4 separate regions of the Homo sapiens genome follow, and regions 2, 3 and 4 are each linked to region 1. The links are contacts of gene promoters, found by promoter capture Hi-C in blood cells and fetal thymus (Javierre and others, 2016). All regions are on one chromosome and are shown on one strand. The core of a region is centred on a gene start or on the middle of the fragment in contact, and the rest is flanking DNA. Distances in the headings are between cores, read along the strand shown. Region 1 holds the start of CYB5R2 (cytochrome b5 reductase 2). Region 2 has its middle 14 kb from the start of OR6A2. Region 3 has its middle 69 kb from the start of RBMXL2. Region 4 holds the start of OR2AG2 (olfactory receptor family 2 subfamily AG member 2).

Region 1 (2,700 bases), core at 150-2,649:
GGATATGACCTTATTTGAAGGTAGAGCCTTTACATAGGTAATCAAGTTAAAACAAGGTCATTAGGATGGACCCTAATTGAATATGACTGGTGTCTTCATAAAAGGGGAAATTTGGACACAGGGACACACACAGAGGGATGAAAATGTGGAGACATAGGAAGAAGATGCCCCTTCTCCTAGCCCCTCTCCTACAAACCTAGGAGAGGCATGGAACAGATCCTTCCCTCACAGCCCTCAGAAGGAACCCACTCTGCCCACACCTTGATTTTGGACTTCCAGCCCCCAGACCTGCGAGACAATAAATTTTTGTTGTTTAAGCCGCTCAGTCTGCGGCACTTTGTTACAGCAGCCCTAGCAGAGTCAAACAGGTGGGGATCTGCTTCTGGGCTTCTCTGTTTCACACAGGTCCTGAGGCAAGAATTTGCCTTTGCCTGTAATCAAGGGCGAGCCGGGCAGCCAAGGTTCCGAAACGCACCGTGAAGACCCTCTAACTGTGCCTACTATTCTGCTCCCCTCCGATCGGCGCGGGGCTCTTGTCCTTCCTCTCTCCACCCAGCGAATGAATGAACGCAGGAGCGCTCGGAGTACACGTCTTCAACTCGGCGACGCCCCTGCTTCGGCCCCACCCCGCAAACACCCGCCCCGGACCAGGCCCAGGGTAGGCGCCCATGAGGTATGTCGAATGAATATATTCGCGCGCTCTTTGCAGCTGCCTGAATTCTTCCTTCCCCAGCATCCCCCTCCGCCCGGTCACCCAGACGGCCTTCTCCAGCCTTGCCGAGCTTAAGTAAGCTGAGGGGCGCTCAGTGTGGCAGCTCTGCGTGTGCAGGGAAGGGGCCAGGATGCAGAGGGGCAGCGCAGGAGCGAGGACGCCACGGCTCAGCGCCCCGCCAGCCTCATGATGGAGCGCTGCCCTGGGGGCAGGGCTGACCCAGAGCCAGCGGCTCGTGAGTGAGAGCCCCCCGACCACGGCCCTTCTCGGGGAGCGGGCCAGCCGCCGGGGTCCCAGCCTGCGGGGTCCGCCCGCGCTTTTGTCCTCCCGGGCGTGCGTGTCCGGGTCTCGGCCGGTTCCCCGTCGGCCAGGCGGAGCTGCGGGGCGACGCCACGAGTCTGCGGGCCCGCGGCGGGGAGCGGCCCCCGGCCAACCCCAGTTCGACGACGTGTTGGGCGTCTCACTCCGGGTGGGTTCCGCGGCGGGGTGTATTTATGGAGTATTGAAGAAATATCTCCGTCGGGACGGCCGGAAGGAAAGAGGCCAGAGGCGCGGAGGCCGGCTAGAGCCGGGAACGAACGTCCGACCGGGAGGTTGGGGGCCGGAGCGGGAGGCGTGGGGAGAGGTCGTGGGCGGGACCGCGAAGGGCGGGGAGTGGGGCGGGCCGGCTCGGATTCCGGAAGGCTGAGACTCCAGTGACCCGGCGGGAGGAGAGGCAACTTTCCCTGTCGGGCTTGAGTTGGGAGAGGAGCAGGGCGGCCTTGTAGGGTAGGGACAGATGCGGGGAGGCTCCCGAGTCTCTGGCAGTTGAGTGCCCAGGCCCCCTTCGCCCTGTCCAGGAGACTGTTGGGGAGTCCCCAGGCCCTAAGTCACGGGGCACCTCTTAGAGCTACGCACCCTAGTTCTGTCTTTAGGGACTGGGCCCCTCATTCCGGATTGTGTGTTAGGGGTGATGTCCTCCCCCTTCACCTCAAGGAAGGGACTTCCAGTGTATGAACCTTTGGCTGTAGCCAGGAGGGGCCTAGTGACCTGAGCACCCCAGGCCATGTGTGCTGCCTGCTCCAGGGGCCTGAAACATCCTTCCTGTGTGACCTGCAGCTGACCCCTCCCTACCCTCTGGTCCACGACAGGCTCTCCCAGCCGCCTTCTGTGTCACTACTGTTCTCTTTGCCTATTTCCTGCAGGCAGAGCTCAGCTCCTGTGCCTTTGGTGTGGGGAGGGTGTTCTGCGCCTGAGAGCTGCCCTGTCCAGGGCGGGCAAGACCTGAGGTGCTCTGTTCACATTGTGTCTGCCAGGACCCGTCCCTGCTCCTGACCATCACCGTCACTGGGGTCACTGTGCTCGTGTTGGTCCTGAAGAGCATGAACTCCAGGAGGAGAGAGCCAATCACCTTACAGGACCCTGAAGCCAAGTACCCGCTGCCCTTGATTGAGAAAGAGGTAATGGGTCAGCCCTGTGGGTGGAAGGCAGTAAGTGGATGATGGCTGGGATGGCAGGGCATCCAGACAGTCATCTCATGGCCTCCAGTTCACTCCCCGCCGCCCTGTGTGTGTGTGTGTGTGTGCTGGAATAGCGCCAAACGGACCTCCTTTCCCAGGCATCTCAGCTGCCCAGCAAGGCTTCTAGAAAGCTGACAGAACCTGCCTATGTTTTGTTTTATCAGAAAATCAGCCACAACACCCGGAGGTTCCGCTTTGGACTGCCTTCGCCGGACCATGTCTTAGGGCTTCCTGTAGGTGAGCCGGGCTTGGGTCATCACCAGGACTGGGGCCTCTGGGGGCTAGGCCCTCCTCTCTTAACAGAAACACAGGTTTCCCACGTCCTGAGGTGTGGAAGATGCCCTCTTGCTCCTCCTGAGCCTGTGAGCTCAGGGAGATAGATAGGGGGATGGATGTGGGACAGAAAATTTCTTTTCTTCATTATTCCAATTGGGCTGACACGAGAGTGGTACCTCAGTGAGCATTGAAAAGAACTGAACCTAGAGCCAA
Region 2 (2,938 bases), core at 20-2,519, 860 kb after region 1:
ACAATTTTTATTTTAGTTTTAAAAATAATTTAAAACCAGCCAGGCACGGTGGCTCATGCCTGTAATCCCAGCACTTTGGGAGGCCAAGGCAGGTGGATCATGAGGTCAGGAGTCTGAGACCAGCCTGACCAACATGGTGAAACCCCACCTCTACTAAAAATACAAAAAAAAATTAGCCAGGTGTGGTGGCGCACCCCTGTAATCCCAGCTACTCAGGAGGCTGAGGCAGGAGAATCACTTGAACCTGGGAGGCGGAGGTTGCAGTGAGCCAAGATCGTGCCATTGCACTCCAGCCTGGGTGACAGAGTGAGAGTCCATCTCAAATAATAATAATAATTTAAAATCGAAACCTTTTTTTTTGAGACAGGGTCTTACTCTGTCGCCCAGGCTTGAGTCGAGTGGCTCGGCTCACTGCAACCTCCGCCTCCCAGATTCAGGCAATTCTCCCCACTCAGCCTCCCGAGTAGCTGGGATTACAGGCACACACTACAATGCCCGGCTAATTTTTGTATTTTTTTAGTAGAGATGGGGTTTCACCATGTTGGCCAGGCTGGTCTCGAACTCCTGACCTTGTGATCCACCCACCTCAGCCTCCCAAAGTGCTGGGATTACAGGCATGAGCCCCCGTGCCTGACCAAAATCAAAACGTTTTTATCACCCCCAAAATTTCTCTCATCCCTTTTGCAATGAGTCCTCTAGCTGTGCCCCCTGGACACTGGCAAACAATAACTTGCTTTCTATCACTATAATTTTACCTTTCCTTGAATTGCATGTAAATGGAATCACACATTAGGTAATCTATCGTGTCTGGCTTCTTTCACTTAGCATAATGCTTTTAGGTTTCACCCATGTTGTTTCATGCCTCAGAAGTTTGTTATTTTGGTCAAAAGTGTGGACCTACACAAATTCATCAGCAGTTGGCAGTGGTTTGGCTGGATGATAAGGGACTTGGAAAGAACAGGATTTGAATGTTGGTGATAAAGAAGTCTGGGAAAGAGGTACGCTAGGTGAACTTTTTGAATGGGCACAGACTATGAATTATCTGTGTTCCAACAAAAGGCATCCACTGTGGATGGCTAACTAGGGATGTCAGATGTGAGTTCTCTACAGAAAGAAGAGACAAAGTTACAGATGAGTGATCATGGCTGGAGTGGAATGCTGAGGAAGAATGCAAAACCAGTCAGAGAAGCCACAGGAAGAAGCTCAGGTGCAGAAAAGGAAGGCAGCAAGACTCTGGCAGAGATTGACTCCTGAGGAACTTGCAATCCCACAGAAAGTGTAGGTGGGAGTTTCTTTGTTCTCCTTACCCTTGTGACAGGCTGCTGAGGACCAAATTGTTGAAGAGCCTCTCTGCTCTTGTAAGCCCAGGCACTGCGGTCAGGAGGAATTTGGAAACTCCCTGGGGGTCCAGCACTTAGTAGCCAGTTTGTGCAGGTTCACACACACTCCCCTTGAACCCAAGTTGAAATGGTAGGCACCGTGTTGGTTGTACACTGATTGTGGGCTACTATCCTGCCCAGAGAATTTCAGTCTTTGTTTCTTCATACCACTAGATCCCCAACAAACATTTTCCAGATGCTGCTCTAAGTGCAGCGAACACAGGGGAACAGTGGGATCCTTGGGAGTTGCAAGATCCTTGGATATCCAGTTCACAGCATGGGCTGCTGCTGGGAGAAGGCACAGTGCAGCCCACCAAAACACCCTTTAGAACAAAGGAAACCAAATAGAAAGCTCTCTCCTGCCTGAGAGCCCCCTACTTGTGTCCAGTGGGTGACTGTGCCCCTCCCAGAAGAGTGATGGGTGCAGTGGTTGTCTCTGAAGGGGAAAAGTGTTGTTCTGCCCAAGCAGACAGGCAACACCAGTGGCTGGAAATGGATGAGGGGAATCTTCTCCCACTCCCCCAGTCTACTGTTGTGGACAGAGCCAAGGTTTTTCCCACTGTGAATTGGCATAAGTGCACTTAGAGTGAGGCTTTCCAGCATGATTCCAGGTGGTTACACCCCCACTGAAAGTGTACCTGCCTCCTGGAATTGCATAAAGGTGGAGCACATCTCCCCCTCCCTACACAGAGCTGCTGTGTTCCTGCAATGGAATGCAGACCAGCCACAGAGTTACCTGTCTTAAACCAGAAAAAGAGGTTCAGCCTCAAGGCTATCTCAGTGGTACCTGCAGATGGGCATTTTCCACGGGCCCTAGTTTCATTGAGACCTGGAGAAAAGGGTCAGTGTCTATCTGAACTGAAAGTAGCAAGCCTGGTGACAGGGATGTAATAGACATGTAGGTTGTGTTCCTGGCTGCCCAGGATAAGGAGGTGGTGAGGTCCCACCGTGGCACCCCTCACGTTGAAGACATCAGCCCATCCCACCATGAGCTCCTTCCACCGCCTCTGTCAAAGCAGGTGCTTCCATTTGTCATCAGAGATGAGCCCGCTCTTACTCCTTATCGCCATCTACTGGACTATAGACTGAACTGCACCACCAAATAAACCTGCTGACAGAAGGGCATAGTTCTAGGGTATGGGAAAAGCTCCCTGAGACCTCCCCACTCCCAGCACCACAGAAGATAATGAGTCAGCTCATATACCCAATATATCACTAAAACAATCAACATTTGAGAAAGCCACTGCACAAAAGCTATCTATAACTAAGGAGTTCATACATAGCCTTGGCCCCCTGAAAGCACTGAGAAACAAAGCCAAAGTATCATACAGAATATATGTTACAGTCATACCCTCAAGGGAGAAAAGAATAAAAAAGTTAAAAGCACCATTCAAATGGAATAAAGTTCAAAAATCAGAGGTCATAACTTCTCTAGATGAGAAGGAATCAGTGTAAGAACTCTGGCAGGACAAAAAGAGTTTTTTGACACCCCCAAAGCATTACACTAGCTCTCTAGCAATGCATCCTAAACAAAATGAAAATTTTGAAAGGACTAAAAA
Region 3 (2,977 bases), core at 460-2,959, 520 kb after region 1:
GGAAACTTCTACTCATAAAATATTAAGGTAAAATATCATCTCTAGAGATTTTCCCTAGCTGGCCTCTGCCCCAGTAGGCTGGGTTTTATTATATTAATGTATCACATCACTTAGTGCACTGTACCAAAAACCATTCCCAAACATCAGTCACTCAAAATAATGATCATTTATTTCTCATCATTCAGTGGGTCGGTAATTTGGGTTGAATTCAGAATCTCTGCTCCACATGGTTGGCTGGGTTTACTCATCTAGAGAGAGATAGCTGGGAAGGCTGGGCTGCCCCCACTCCATATGGTCTATCATCTTCAGCGAGGCTGGCGTTGACTTGTTTTCATGGTTGAAGTGTCCCAAGGGATGAGAGAAGATGCTGCAAACAGTTATACAATGTGGCTTCTGCTACATTCCATTGAAAAATCACATCACAAGAGCAGCCAGCTTCAAGAGACAAGAGAATAGACTTCACCTTTCGATGAAAACAGTTGCAAAGAATCCATGGCCATTTTTATCCACTAATTCAGTGCATTCCACCTGTGTATTGTCTATCTCCATAACTAGATTGAGGAATCTTCATGAGCCTCCTCTTGATACTGATTTTAATGTACTGAGTGACTGGCACAGTGTAAACTGCTCAATATGGAGTGAATAAATATCAGTTGCATGTTAGGCAGTGATCAGAATACAAATCTATGTGGAATACAAGACATAGTCCCTGTTCTTGAGTAACCCATAGTGCCTGGTGCCATCCGGTAGGAGAGAAAAAAATGGTGAGACAAAATTTAAAGGGTGTTTTCAAACAACAGAAAAAGTACTATTCCAACAGGAAAATGCAAAAACTAATTACTATATAAATGGGACACACAGGTCAGATAAGCAAGCACACGTTGAATCTGGTATTTGCATTAAGACTTGCATTATGTTTTGAGGAGGGGATTTGGATTCTTAAATAATTGGGCATATGAATTCATAACTAGCCGGTCATTCCATTAGTAGATGGAACATGTGAGAAATATCCCAGGGACAAAAAAAAAATTTTTATTTTCAAAAAGAGTGGCTGCCCACTTTGCCCAGAGCAGGAACTGGTGTCAGGATATGCGGGAAGATTACAGGAGAAGCTTGGTATAAGGCTCTTTGGATTTTATCTTCTTGGTGATAGGATTTTAGAGCAGAAGAGCATTGGGATGAATATTACATGTGGAGAGTGAAACATGGGAGCAGATGTAAAATGTATGGAAATGGGAGAGACAGAAAGTAAAAAAGAGGCAAGTATGATGAGAGCCTAAAGATCACGGTAGCTGAATGAATAAGAGCAAGCAAGGAGACTGGCAGTTTTGGAGCCCTGCTGCTCTTCAAGATGTATTGTTTTATCTAATCTTTTGATAATACTGTGATATAGATGTCCAAGCCACCAATTTACAGATAAGAAAAGTAAAGCTCAGATAATTTAGGTAACTAGCTTAAGACCATACACTAATTAATAAAAAAAAAAAAAAGCTGGTTCTTCTTACCTTTGAGTTAAATGTTTGATTACGCACTTCTCAGGATATAAAAATATTTTATTATGGCCGGGTGCGGTGGCTCATGCCTGTAATCCCAACTCTTTGGGAGGCCGAGGTGGGCAGATCACGAGGTCAGGAGTTTGAGACCAGCCTGGCCAACACGGTGAAACCCTGTCTCTACTAAAAATACAAAAATTAGCTGGGCTTGGTGATGCGTACCTGTAGTCCACCTACTCAGGAGGCTGATGCAGGAAAATCACTTGAGCCTGGGAGGTGGAGGCTGCAGTTAGCTGAGATCGCACCACTGCACTCCAGCCGGGGCCACAGAGCCAGACTCGATCTCAAAAAAAATATTATCCAACTTTTATTTTACCACAAGTTTGTGCAAGTTCCTCATCACGTGATGAGTGGGTTTCTAACATAATAATATGTTGATCCTGCTCTCTCTATTTCTGCTCATACAGTGGAGAAGGAAACAGGCACTTCAAACAAACTTCACAGGAGTGAAAAGGAGACAGAAAAAGGAAGATTGAGCACAGAAATATTAAGCCACTAAGTTCCAACCTAAGTATTAAGTATTCATTCAGTATATATTTAGCACTTAATAACATACACACCCTGAGCAGAGTGCTGGGGAGAAAAGATAAATCAGGCATGATTCCTATCTTTCAAAAGATAGAAAGAGGAAATTGTCAAGTAACAAATAAATACAATAATTATGGCAAAAGAACATACGAAATTCTGCACACAGTAAACCAGGAGCCACATAGGAAAGGCCTAGTTCATGCTGAAGCATTGAAGAAAAGCTTCATAAAGGCAACAGACCTTGATTTCATGTTGATAGATGAGAAGGTGGCCAAGTAGTAAAAAGGGACAAGGAAGCTAGGACAGGTGTTGAGGATATGAAGCAGGATATAGTGACTACAGTATACAAAGAAAGACAGGATCGTATTGTGGGGAGGACAGATTATGTGGGACAGGATATTTTAACTGGAGACAGTATAAAACAACAGGTAAAAGGGCCAGACTGATCTGCTTCAAATCCCAGTCTGCACTTTCTCCCAATTGGCTTTAGCCCAGTTGTTCAGCTTGCCATTAAGCCACCATCTGTAAAATAGAAATGATAATACCAAGCCTCTCTCTCCTGACTTCTAGACCAACTGGGGATCAGACAAGTGTCAAATAGAAATCAAAATATCAGCTTCAATCTGATAAATCTGGATTGGTGTCTCTGGCTTGGATTTGCTATAAAAATGCACTCCCTAACACTTGCTCCGTAGCTCATATGTTGGGCCCTACAGGTGAGGAGAGTTGGAGCTTCTGAGAAAGCACTTAGCATGGAGAACTGAAGTCGACTCGCACCCCCATTGAGTCTTGTTACTGAGAGTATGATCCACAGAGTGGCCACCTCAGCATTATCTGGGAGCTTAATCAAAATGCAGAATCTTAGACCCCAGACAAGACCCACTGGGTCAGAGTCT
Region 4 (3,067 bases), core at 140-2,639, 900 kb after region 1:
CACTATAACTATTAACGCAAATTTCATGTCCATCATTTTCTTTCTTCATTTATATGTAGTTTTATTGAATGTACACATATTTATAGGAAGTTTATTTTCACTTAAGTTCTTAACACTGCAAAAGAAGTACCACGATATATAATCCTAAGGTGTCTCTTGCTTCCCTTAATATTAGTTTCCTAAGTTGCTTTTTTTGTTGTATGCTCTGGTTCCTTTGTTTAGATTCCTACATAGTAACCCTTTGGTGCATATCTATCTATTCCACTGTTGATGGGCATAAAGGTCGTTTCTAATTTTTATTGTACTGTGAATAATGCTGCTCTTATAATTTACATGTTTAAAACCGTCTTTTCAGTACATTCCTTTTATAATTAAAAAATAAAAAGATTTTTATATTAGTTCTTCTGTTGCACTTCTGAAATAATTTTGAGTATATATTTTATATAAACAGAAAGTGGAAACTTATTTTTATTTTTTTTAAGTTCAAAGAGAAAAGATATGATAACTCCGGAAGAAATTTTCAGCATTTCCTGGTGAAATGGCTGATTAAAGAGATACTAAAGAATGAGGAAGATTAAGCACAGAATTGGGTGAGAGATGGGAAAGCCTGAACTAAAAGCAGAAGTGAGTGCAAGCAGGTGCTGTGTCATCATCCCAAAGCTCTGAGCAGCTCAGCTGACTGATCACAGAATATGTAGGCCCATGAACAAATGAACACACACAAGAGGGAGTAGAAAGGAGAAACAAAGAACTGAAAAATAAATTAGTGCTGGATCCTCATTAAAGCTCAGTGAAGGAAGACCTGATATTAACAGAAGCATAGTTAACTCCCTCTAGTTGGTAATAGCCCAGGCTAGTGGCACAAAGAGGGATATGTGAGTGGCAGCATCTATAGAACCCATGAGACAGACTTTATATTTTGGACAGAGGGCTGGACAGGGAGGTGTTGCTTTTCAGATTGGTTACTGACACTATCTATTTTGTCAGAAACAGCCTCTGTCTGGTTTTCCGGTCAGTGATTTCTAGGTTAAAATTATAGTTTTGGTTTTGTAAGGCAGGAGAAAGATCTTAGACTCCAATGAGTGGTGAGACACAGCAAGCCCATGGCGGGCAGAACAAGGCCTCAAGGTTCAGAGCTCATTTGGTGGTAAAGTTTGAAGAAATGGCAGGCCAGGAGACATGCCCAAGGGGATTTATTAAAATCCCATTTCCTGGAGCAATATTTTCAGGGGAGGTCATGTCAGCTGAGAGGGTGAGACTATGAACCCTCCCCCAGGACAGGCCTCACTGTTGGCGCAGAGACAGTAAGGCTGGGCATTGGTGGGTCTCTTTTAAGCAGCTCTTCTTATACCTCTTTTCTCACATTCCTGCTGTGCTCCTCTTTTATCATGAAACACAGCATGAGGGGAATATATGAAATCTGAGGACCTGGACTTAAGAACTCAGCTAGAACCATTCCAAAGCAGTAAGGACTTTCTCGCAAGGACAGTGAATGAGAGAACTTTGGAAGAGATTCAGCTCCTCACTTCTGCAGGATCCTGCCCTAGGTTCTCAGCTGCCTGTCTGCATCTATCTCTACTTCCAGAGAGGACTTGCAGTGCCAGTGACTGGAGGAGCCTTTGATCTCTGATCCTAGAGACAGCCATACACACACCTACATTCATCCTGGCCAGAAGAAGCAACTTTTCTTTCTTTGGCTTCTTGAACCTCTTTACCTGGAAGCTATGCCCCTTCCCATATGAGGTAAGGGCTCTGTCTCCGTTTCAAGGCAATATGGGAAGTCTGGAAGTCCTGAGAAACAGGGTCAAGACCTTACACTGCTCTCCTTCTCAGATTCTCTAGTTCCTCAGGCTTTATGATTCACTCACTCCCATCTATATCTTATCAACCTTGTACATGTACCCATCTTGCACATGTAGGAACAACCAAAATAATTCTATGCCATTGGCCAGCCGTGAGTTCCTAGAATTCCTGATGATGGCCTCCTGGTAAAAGTCTCAGTACTTACCTTTGTTACATCTAGATTTTCCTGGCCTCCAGTAGTTTGATGTGAGTCCCCAAATGAATAGTACCTCAAAGGAGGACTATCTAAAATATGCTGAAGTGCCTTTCCCCTGCAGGACTGCTTGGCGCTAAGTCCAGTGCCACACAAAAAGCCAAATGAAGTAAATACAAAAAATAAATATACTGAGCAGAGATGAAAAAGAAAAACTTATAAAATATACTTCCAAAAATTTAGCTCTACCTTGTTAATTGACTGACCATTTTCCATAAACTATAGCAATGCCTCTTAATATCAGCCTCTGCTGACTTCTCTTGGTTTGAAATACCCGCAACCACCAGCAGTTTTCCAGAATGAAGCTCTTCCTCTGTAGGCCCAGTGTGTGTTCTCTGGCCTTTCCCTTTAGATGACCCCAGAGAGAACTCAGTAAATGGAAAGAAGGGAAAACAATAGTCCCGTATCAGAGGGAGGAGGTAGGTATGTAGGATCCTGAGTCCTGGTTACACCACCTTACCCAAGCCCTGATTTTTCTTCTCTTTGAAATCCTGTCCAAACATCTGGTGCAGGAAGCTAGAAGAATGTGCCCAGCTAATTATGTTCCTCCTTTTATTTACCTGTCCATTCATCTTTTTATTCAAGAAAAATGAAGGCATTTCAAATCTAATATTTAGCAGAAATAGTGCTTAGAATTGACTTTGGACTTGTGTTTTTGTTGTCAACAGACAAATAAGGTTTTCCGGTCAGTGGGTCAGTGGTTCCTAGGTTAAAATTATAGTTTTGATTTTGTAAGGCAGGAGAAAATTCTTAGACTACATTGCGTGGTGAAACACAGTTTTATACAGGGTATTTTTCTGGGGGTTTCTTGTCCAGACTTCACTGGGCAAAAGTGCAAGGAGGACATTCATGTACTGTATTTTAAGGTTCTGACTTTCACGGTACCATCCCTCACTTTTTTTTTTTTAATTATATCCTGACCCATTTTGATTTAGCCACCTCCTATTTATCCTCAGCCTTTAGTCTGTATACCACTTCCTTGGTGAATCCTTTCCTGAAAACTCACTTATA

What was found. Contacts are between HindIII fragments. The CHiCAGO score rates a contact against its expected background, and 5 or more counts as called.
Region 2: a fragment that was not itself captured here is called in contact with the fragment with the promoter of CYB5R2 in region 1 in 1 of 17 cell types (neutrophils); the score reaches 5.1 in neutrophils.
Region 3: a fragment that was not itself captured here is called in contact with the fragment with the promoter of CYB5R2 in region 1 in 1 of 17 cell types (total B cells); the score reaches 6.0 in total B cells.
Region 4: a contact is called between the fragment with the promoter of OR2AG2 here and the fragment with the promoter of CYB5R2 in region 1, in 1 of 17 cell types (M1 macrophages). The highest score is 5.3, in M1 macrophages.

What each region holds. Positions count from the first base shown.
Region 1 is chr11:7,672,199-7,674,898 of GRCh38, reverse strand. It overlaps CYB5R2 (cytochrome b5 reductase 2), which reads left to right and starts at 1,399. Exons shown (of 9, transcript NM_016229.5): 1 at 1,399-1,480; 2 at 2,008-2,151; 3 at 2,376-2,448. The coding sequence starts at 2,074. RefSeq lists a silencer at 887-1,096 and enhancers at 1,617-1,716, 1,737-1,786. The HindIII fragment of the contact is 8,029 bases long and covers 1-2,700 here.
Region 2 is chr11:6,812,098-6,815,035 of GRCh38, reverse strand. No RefSeq gene overlaps it. Among named protein-coding and RNA genes, the nearest start is that of OR6A2, 14 kb to the right of the region's middle. The HindIII fragment of the contact is 3,399 bases long and covers 1-2,938 here.
Region 3 is chr11:7,156,191-7,159,167 of GRCh38, reverse strand. No RefSeq gene overlaps it. Among named protein-coding and RNA genes, the nearest start is that of RBMXL2, 69 kb to the right of the region's middle. The HindIII fragment of the contact is 1,190 bases long and covers 1,115-2,304 here.
Region 4 is chr11:6,770,298-6,773,364 of GRCh38, reverse strand. It overlaps OR2AG2 (olfactory receptor family 2 subfamily AG member 2), which reads left to right and starts at 1,389. Exons shown (of 2, transcript NM_001004490.2): 1 at 1,389-1,743. The HindIII fragment of the contact is 9,473 bases long and covers 1-3,067 here.